Regions from separate parts of the Homo sapiens genome. Here regions 2 and 3 are each linked to region 1. The links are contacts of gene promoters, found by promoter capture Hi-C in blood cells and fetal thymus (Javierre and others, 2016). All regions are on one chromosome and are shown on one strand. Each heading gives the region's core, a stretch centred on a gene start or on the middle of the fragment in contact. The rest is flanking DNA. Distances are from core to core; before and after follow the strand shown. Region 1 holds the start of ROBO3 (roundabout guidance receptor 3). Region 2 overlaps SIAE (sialic acid acetylesterase). Region 3 overlaps TBRG1 (transforming growth factor beta regulator 1).

Region 1 (2,991 bases), core at 359-2,858:
GTCAACACCTTCCTTGCATACCTCACTAAGTTTCGAGCTTAGATGAGACAAAGTATGGTGAAAACACTCTGTAAACGCGCTAGGTGAGCAGAAGCGGGACTCTGCGGGGTGCCAGCGAGAAGGGATCTGTGCTTAACCTCCTGGAAATCTAGGAGGGTCAAGAGGTTGGAGAATCGGGCTCCTCCCCCATCGTCTTTCTCCCCAATCCTTCTATACGGACCACACCCTTCTGGTCGGCCTTTTCCCCCTAATTCCTGTAGACACAGCTGCAGGCGCCCTTTCCCTGGAATTTCCCCCTCTACCCTTCCCGGTCTCAGGAGATGCTTCGACTGCAGCCTAATGAATAGCTAATGGCCATGCTAATGAGGCTCTGGGGCTCCTCCCTCAGCACCTGATGTGCCCCACACATGAACACACACATATTGCCAGGGTCTCCTTTCTCTCCACCTTCGAGTCCCCAGCACAGTGCTCGTCACTAGACTCGAGTGGGTCGAGGCAGAGGGATGGGGACCGCGTGCACCTGGAGGGAACCACACGCGAAAGCGCCCGGTAAAGCGGGGGTTCCCGATGCGGCAGGCAGGGGGCGCGCTCCGGCCTCTCCGCAGGCTGGCGGCGGCCGGCTCCCGCAGCTTCCCCGCGGCGCTAGGGGAGAGCGCGCTGTCCCAGTCATTTATTAATCACCGTAATTAGCGGTAACGACCTCGCCGCCAGCTCCGCCCGCCCGCCACAGCTCTGCCGGGGTGGGCCGGCTGAGAGTCCCGCCGCTGAAAGACAAACTTCTAAGTTTCCTTAAAATGATCGCCGCCCCTATCCCCTCCGTAGCAAACACATCCAGCATTTTGGCTTCCTCTGGTCCTAAGTGAGTTCTTGGGAAACTTCGGGGTTCCGAAGACCAGCTGCCTGGGTGGGTCACCGAGTGACCTGGCTTGGCCGAGGCCGGCGGGAGACTGTGCCCCCTCCTCTGCCCTCCCTGCGCTGGGCCCGGGCCTTTCTTAGCTCGGACTTCCCTGCCCGTTACCAGCAACGGTTCTTCTCACCTGGGGTGGGCGTTGTAGGGGAAGGGAAGGAGGTGTAAAAAGACTCAGTAGCCATCTTCTCCCAAGCCCTCGACCTCCCGCGGGTACCCCCACTCATGTGCTCGAAGCTCCAAATTATCCCTTAGACCCCACGACCCAGGGAGGCGCTGGGAGGCGCCACTCAATCCCGGACCTCGGGACAGGAGCGCTTCTCCTTCCCTTCCACGCCGCCCTCTCACCTCATCCCCATCCCAGGATCCCATATCCCCAAGAGGCAGGGTCTCACCGTTGAGAGAGGGATCGCCGGGAGGCAGCAGGGTGTGGTTGAGCGCCGCCAGCGAGGAGTTGAAGCCCAAGAGCAGCTCGCTGGAGTTGGAGATGTCCCCGGCCAGAGAGTCCGCGAACAAGTTCATCTGCAGCAGCGTTTTCAGCAGGTAGCGCAGCATGGCTCGACCCAGCTGGGATCGGGACTGGGGGCTGGGGGCCCAGCCCCTGGGTCTGAGACCCGTGGGCTGGGAGCCGTAAGCCCCTCCACAGCCTCTGCGCGCTGCGGCAGCCACGGTGCCGCTCTCCTGCCGGTGCGCCTGGGTACGGTCGGTGCCTCTTCGTGCCCTCCTCCTTCCCTCGTCCTTCTCTCCACCCCCTAGTGCCGGAGTCCCCTGGGAGCTGGGCAGGCGGAAAGCAGGTGCCACGCCGATCACGGCGTAATTAAGGGATTAATCCGCCTCCCTCCACCCTCCCACCCTTACCTCTACAGTCACTATCCGAGCAGGAGACACGAGTAGCGTAGCGCGCGAGTTGGAGTCCCCGCCCCGCACCCCAAGCCCAGCGTTCCGTTCTGGACGCGGCGAGAGATTTTCCCTGTCTCAAAGCACCCAAGATGAGGGACGAGGCTCTGTCGGACTCTGCCCTTCTGCCCAACTTTAGAACAGGAATCTGTCCTCTCTTTTCCCGAACCTTTTGGAAACTGAGGCAAAGCGCAAGCAATGCTCCTTGCTGCCAAAGTTCTGGTTTCCATTCCCTCCCAAGTCTAGGGGTTTGGCGACGGAAGGGCAGGAGACTGGGGTGGTTTGCAGCAAGAGTTGGGAGTAGGCAGAGAATTCCAAGACAGGTCCACCTCTCTGCCCTCTGGTCCTTTGGTCTGCAGCCAGGAGGCCAGAGGATGGAGCGGCGCGCCCTGACCCGGGAGTCCTGCTCCAAACGCCCTAATCTAGGAGTTCCTGTAGGAGACTGAAAGCCAGGGAAACCCAGGCAACTGTCATTTATTTGAATCCTTTTACATTACCCTGCTTTGACATTTTTTATTAAATTGTTTTACGTTTTTGAGGAGACTGAAATGGAACCAAGGATTCTAGGACAAAAACAAAGATAATATTATTTTTGTAAAGGCATGTGGGATTGCTGCAAAATTAGTGCAAATCTGTTCAAATCGGATAGCAGTCGTCCTTCCTGGGGGGGGCGAAAAGAAAACCATGGGCCCCTACTCCCACCTCCCACTTCCAGTCGCGGTCTGCTTCTGACTTTTCTGGAGTTCTTTCTACCTGAAGACCCACCTCGACAAACTCACTTTCCTAGACAGGAGATGGCTTTGGGGTATCAGGGAAAGAGAGAGGCCGGGGCATTCCTAACCTGAGGTAAGGCCCTGCTGATTGAAGAGTCAGTGCCAGAGTTCTGGCTCAGCCGTCAGGTTCTGGGATGAGACAACTTTCATGGGGCGACTGCTTCTGACCCCAAAGGGGTCGAGATCAGAGGGGTGGGTGCTATACAGTCGCAGACTCTGGAGTAAGCAGAATCAAGAATTGAAATATTTCAGGCAGAGCTTGTTCAAGGGAACCCGAGACATTGTCAAGGGGTGGGGGGCTTGTTCCAAGCCTCCTTCCTCAGTCCAGGCGCCTGGCTGTGAGCCTCCAACTATGGGTGTTTAGGTGCCTTCCAACCCTAGCAGTTCTGGGCGGGACGTAGAAAGGCTGGAAGC
Region 2 (2,983 bases), core at 419-2,918, 220 kb after region 1:
ATTTATTATTTATTTTTTTGAGACAGAGTTTTGCTCTTGTTGCCCAGGCTGGTGTGCAATGGCACGATCTCAGCTCACTGCAACCTATGCCTCCCAGGTTCAAGCGATTCTCCTGCCTCAGCCTCCCGAGTAGCTGGGATTACAGGTGCCCACCACCACGCCCAGCTAATATTTGTATTTTGGGTAGAGACGGGGTTTCATCATATTGGCCAGGCTGGTCTCGAACTCCTGACCTCAGATGATCCACCTGCCTCATTCTCTCAAAGTGCTGGGATTATAGGTGTGAGCCACTGCGCCCAGCCTCTTTAGCATAGCTATAAAATTGGGTATAAAGCCACCAGAAAAAAGAAGAAATACACATTTCTTCTTAAGTTGCCCCCTCCTTGCTTTTTCCCTTCCACAGAGCTAAGTGGGAATGAGTGGCTGAGTAAGAGGGGAGACACAGAAGAGAGTAGCATGGGGACATGATGGCCCTCCCACCTCTCACCTATTTGAGGGAGAGCATTGATTATCCGAGAGTCTGCAGATCCTGTAAGTGATGGGAAGCATGGGGAAGCCTATTGCCTAGCCAGAGTTTTAACTTCCATGTTATGTAAGTGAATTATTTATAATCAGACTGAGAGCAAAATCGCTATCATATCTGCCTCTCTCCCAGGCAGAGAGAGCTATTTCCTTGTTATGAGAACAAGCATTTTGAGTAACTGAAAAAACATGAAGACAGATAAAAGGAAACTATCACTAAGGTTACAGTTTTCTCCCTTGGAAAAGATTCTCCTTAGGGAAGGTTTGGAAGAGATAATAGTGTTCAGACCAGCATATTGGTCTTGATGCTGTATCTTCTCTGTGCCTCTCAATCTTATCCTACTTTTGAAAGTCTTAGAAAACAACAGAAGAATGACCTCTGCCCACCCTTCTCACCTCGACCCACCTAGCAGCTGCAGTTTGTATCCATCAACCTTTCTCTGGCTCTTTTTCTTTAACCATTTCTCTGAACAGAAAACTTAGGCCATGGATATTTCAAGTACATGTCAGCAGTGTGCTGGCTCTTTGGACGTCACCTTTATGACACTCTGCAGTATCCCATCGGGCTGATCGCCTCCAGCTGGGGCGGGACACCCATTGAAGCCTGGTCATCTGGACGGTCACTGAAAGCCTGTGGGGTCCCTAAACAAGGGTAAGACAGCATTCTCCAGTCTGAGAAAGAGCCTACCAGGGAATTATGCAAGAGAGAGGGTCATCGTCCTCTGTGGGGAGTTAAGTATATGGTGAATGTCCCAATATGTGTTGAATGTATGTAATTTATTCATGTAGAGGGAAAGCATTATTTTCACTGTCACTGCCACCACAATCGTTTGAGAACATGTAAAAAAAAAGTATCTTTTCCCCCAGTAATAGTAATAGCTAGTGGTTACTGAAAGCTTTTTATATGCCAGACACTGTGCTAAGCACTTTATATATATAAATTATGAATATATTGAATATATATTATTATATATTAATATATTGAAGTGTAGATATTAAAGACCATGGGTGAAGACACTACATTTCAGAGAGACTTAGTAACTTGCTCATGAGCATGACTAGTAAGTGGCAAGTCTGGCTTCAGTGTCTGTGCACCTAACCATTGTGCTGTATTGCCTAGAAGAATAAACAATCCAACAGGAAGAACAAATGTTATAAACATGTACTCAAAGAAATGTATCAGTATACTGATTATGAACACCTGCTTAGGAAAGGCTGGATCAGGAAGAATACTTGGGGAGGGAAAGGGCTAGTGAATACAAATCCCGATACTAACATCAATGTAGAGATGAGCAGTATGTGACTTGCTTTCATGGACCATGTCTCATTCACGCTGGGAAGCCCTGTGGGAGGAGGATGGGCTTGAGCTCTGGGTATAGTTTGGGTAAAAGCTTGCCTGTGGGGGAGTGAAGATATTCAACTTTGGAACAGGAAGAATGGCCTGCAGTAGAGTAGGAGTGAGCGTTAGACCAGATCTCTGGGGGTGGAAGGGATAATCCCGAGGGTGTGGGCAAGTGGGCTTCTCACACGCAGCAGCTACAGGATAAATTCATATAAATATTCTACAGAGAAATTTGAGAACGTGTTCAGAGCCTTAAAAAAGATGCCCTTTGACACAGCAGTTTCATTTCTGGGAATTTATCTTATGGATATAGTTAAGCATGTATGCAATGACTTAGCTATAAGGAAGATGATCTTGGCATTCCATATAAAAGCAAAAAGTTTAAAACAACCTAAATGTCTGTGCATTAAATAAAGGTTTATTTAATAAAAGTTAGGTAAATTTATTGGCCCCCCCCCACAATGTGAGAAACTCAACAATAAAGCACTCCTTCCCTGTGGCTTTAATTACCTTAGAAATTACCTTTAATTACCATAGAAAGCTGACCGATACACTTATTTTGGGAATAACCTGGAGGTGAAATTCAGAGAATATTCATATGTTTTCAAGAAAAAGAGTTTCGATTCAATTTTAATTCTGTGTTGCTTTCATCAGAAGTTTACCACAAGTGAAAGTGGATAGATGACCAATTAGGGACCCTTATGTGATCAATCACTGGCTCTCTGGTGACACTTGTGCATCATATGATTTCAGGTCCATTCCATACGATTCTGTAACTGGTCCCAGTAAGCACTCTGTTCTCTGGAATGCCATGATCCATCCACTGTGCAATATGACTCTGAAAGGGGTAGTATGGTACCAGGGTAAGTGTTCAGTGTACTCTTTCTCCATTGTATCAGATAGCGTTTGCTGTATAACACAGCACCCTAGAACGTAGTGGCTTAAAGCAACAATAACTTTATAATTTTATTCAGCTCACTGTTCTGTGGGTGAGCAGGGTAGTTTTTATGTCTGGGCTGCTTCAGCTAATTCCTGCTGGGACCTCTTATGTGTCTTTGGCCACCTGGCAGATTGTCTGGTGGCTGGATGACCTAGGATGGTCTCTCCCTAGATGTATTG
Region 3 (3,168 bases), core at 321-2,820, 230 kb after region 1:
CAGACATTGAATCTGCGCTCCTTGAACTTGGACTTCCCAGCATCCAGAACTGTGAGAAATAAATTCATGTTATTTATAAACCAACCTGTCTATGGTATTTGTTGTAGCAGCCTGCAGCTCTCTATCACTCTTGTTTATAAGAGGCTGAAGTTTACTTTACCTCAGGCAGAGCTAAGCAAAAAAGATTACATCCCGATTACAAGATGAAAGTAAACAGAATTGACAAGAGAAATTTATTACTAAAAATAAAGCAGCTGAAGGTTTTCCCAGGGAAAACCATCACCACAGGACCTTCCATGATGAAATACGTTAGTATCTTCTTTACTTCTGAATTGCTGCCTTCTTTCATATACCCAAAATTTTAGTTTAAGTTAAATTAATCACGACAAAAACGATGTGGCATCTGATCCCTTCTTGTTCAATCTGAAGACTGAATTGGGCTACCCTGTGATGGAGACTTCAAGTGCTGCAGGTGAGTATCTACCAAGGGTTCATGTGTCAGGTACATGGGCTGGTAAGAAGACACAAAGGCTGCAGGCTGAAGCTCTGGGAGGTCCAAGGATCCTGGAGAAAACAATTCCTTAAGTTCCACTGCTGCTCGGGAGTCTGGGCAGACTGTTTTGGTCAGACATATACATGTCCTTTCAATCAATTCCTTAACACCCTTGCATTTGTCAGCTCAATTTTGCCTTTGTTAAGATAGGACAGATACTTTTACAATGAAAACTGGTTGAAACATTAAGTGACTTGCCTAGGGTTATATAGTATATTAGGCAAAGAGTGAGAATTTCAATTCCATTTTTTAACCCAGAGTTTTCCCTATATGACCCCAAAGCCTGAACCCTTGATCACTCATTTGTGGGAGGAACTCATGGAACACAGGCAGGGCCAAGGCCTTGACTTGACCCCACTGACTTCACTTGAAATGTTATTCCCTGCACAGTAAACTTTCCCCTGGTGTTCTGCTCCAGTCTTGCTTAGGTTACAGAATGAGATACCTTAGTTTCTGGGGTACCCTGCCTTACTATGATCGCAGGTGCTCCCCATGACATCTGTGAGTAATCTAGGAAGCTATGCAGGCCGCAGGTCCCCCTCTAACTCAGCACTCCGCAAGGCTGATTCAATGAAAGCTTTTATCACTCAATGCATAGATATTTAGGGTACTCGGCTATGTGTGAAGATGGGAAGGTAGCCTAAACACAGTCAATTTTCAAACCAGAAAGGTAAAGTTAAAGATACCTGGCAGAAGGGGATCATTCTGATCTTCATCAAAGATCTGTCTCTGAAAGGCTTCAAAGCTCATAGCTGCATCATTCTCCGGCAGCCCCTCAGGTAGCTGCCCATCTCCAGGTTTGCACACATCAAATTTCACCCACTGGTAACTGCAGAATCAAGGGAAATCACCCTTGAGAGTTATCTGCTAGACATAAATACCCATTCCTATCACTAAAGGGATCAGGTAATTTTTCTTTATATTCCGCCCATATATATCTAAAACACATATTTGCTAACAAAAACCTAAAAGAAATAAGCAGGCCTCTTTAGTGACAAATTAGTCTGCTAGATTTCCCACCCCTTTTGCTGTCATGGTACATACAGAAAATAGTAATAATCAGCGAACAGTGGAGTCCTGGCTCTTGCTTACCTGTCCAGAGGGCTAAGGGGGCCAATACTGAGCCCTACTGGTCGAGAAGCAGGCAGGCTTTGGACACAGAAGGTCAGTGAACAAAGTAGGAACTGCCAGTCCCTGGCCGGATGATCACTGAGCTTTTCTCAAGGGAATGAATTTGATCACACTTACTTGATGCATTTTCGAGCTCCTGGACAGCTCTGGATCAGGTTGTGGATGGCTGGATGAGAAAATCCAAAAAAGTCAGCTCCAGCTGGAAGCAGGTTAGGCATTAGTTTCCCCCTAAACAGGAGAGGGATAATTTTAGTTTGAGAGCTTAGCGGGAGATGAAGATGGATTTAAGAACAGAATAGTGGTATGAACAAACAGGATAAGCTTTCTTGACTTTGATAATGTGGAGGCTCTAGTTGGCACAATGTCAGGAGGATCCAGGATAGGTTTCTATAAAATAAAGTATCTCCACCCATTAAAAGCAAGAGAAAAGGTTTCACTGTACCAACAGTGATCTTTTAGCCTGTTTTCAAGCTTTTGGTCAACTTACATAGTAGTGCTTATAGTCCTGAGCAGTTCTGCATGACAAGCATCTGCAGAAGAGCTGACAATGGCATTCTGGGGGTCATCTTCAGGAACAATTTCAAACTGAGAAAGACAAACGAGCAATGAGATCAATCCTCAAGAAGGAAGGAGAGAGGGGCATACTACTCTGTAAATATTTCTTTACTCTGGAACGTGAAGCTGACGTATACCATCTTCAGAAGGGACACACATACTTTCCTATAGGGCTGCTAAAAATTGAAACAAATCCAAGTACCTAGAGAAAGTCCTTTGACTGTTTCAGTTCTACCCTTCTTGGTTGACAGCTTTCCAAAAGTGAGCGTTTAATTTGTTGTGTACCTTTCCAATCCACTTATTTATATCCTTAAGTACAAATACAAATGGTATTTTAAAAACAAATGAGATCACTCTCCATGTAATCTTTTAAGTCAATTTTACAAGATCTAGGAGAAACAGGCTGACTGCAAACTGCCATTTCATTGTATTTACTTTCATTTTGAACGTTAAAATATCTTGGTTATGTTAATAAAAAGAAACTGTTGCATCGAAATTACACTAATTCTGAGGAATTTTTGCCAAGAAAATATTTTTGTAACAAATGTAACAAGTTAACTAGCTGATTTAATTATTTGGCCAGTTTTCTATAAAGCGCAATGATTTTTTTGCCAGGAAAATATTTCTGTAACAAGTTCTATCTAGCCAATTAAATTATTTGACTAGTTTTAAAGTTCATTTAAACAGTTTCTAGTTCTTCAATGTTTACTTCAGTCAAATTATCCTGAACAGGATTAATTTATTTTCTGTATAATTTTTTAGAATGATATCGAGCACTACTGATTTCTAAAAAAAGTCAAAGCAATTTTTACTGAGTATAGTTTCCACTACTGTTAGTTTTCTTCTGTGGTTATTATTTCACTGGATTCAATTTACCGTGTCAAATTTTAGAGATCTGTCAATTTTGTCAGTAATAAATTCTCTTGTGA

Evidence for each region. The method cuts DNA at HindIII sites, captures the fragments that hold promoters and counts their contacts. A CHiCAGO score of 5 or more calls a contact.
Region 2: a fragment that was not itself captured here is called in contact with the fragment with the promoter of ROBO3 in region 1 in 2 of 17 cell types (endothelial precursors and total CD8 T cells); the score reaches 6.4 in endothelial precursors.
Region 3: a fragment that was not itself captured here is called in contact with the fragment with the promoter of ROBO3 in region 1 in 5 of 17 cell types (non-activated CD4 T cells, naive CD8 T cells, activated CD4 T cells and 2 more); the score reaches 6.1 in non-activated CD4 T cells.

The regions. Positions count from the first base shown.
Region 1 is chr11:124,864,049-124,867,039 of GRCh38, reverse strand. It overlaps ROBO3 (roundabout guidance receptor 3), which reads right to left and starts at 1,608. Exons shown (of 28, transcript NM_022370.4): 1 at 1,303-1,608. The coding sequence starts at 1,462. RefSeq lists an enhancer at 616-1,292. The HindIII fragment of the contact is 17,224 bases long and covers 1-2,991 here.
Region 2 is chr11:124,647,810-124,650,792 of GRCh38, reverse strand. SIAE (sialic acid acetylesterase) reads left to right here. Exons shown (of 10, transcript NM_170601.5): 5 at 997-1,174; 6 at 2,618-2,727. Among named protein-coding and RNA genes, the nearest start is that of SIAE, 24 kb to the left of the region's middle. The HindIII fragment of the contact is 495 bases long and covers 1,421-1,915 here.
Region 3 is chr11:124,629,489-124,632,656 of GRCh38, reverse strand. TBRG1 (transforming growth factor beta regulator 1) reads right to left here. Exons shown (of 9, transcript NM_032811.3): 6 at 2,172-2,269; 7 at 1,802-1,912; 8 at 1,240-1,382; 9 at 1-564. The coding sequence ends at 419. Among named protein-coding and RNA genes, the nearest start is that of TBRG1, 8.2 kb to the right of the region's middle. The HindIII fragment of the contact is 875 bases long and covers 1,133-2,007 here.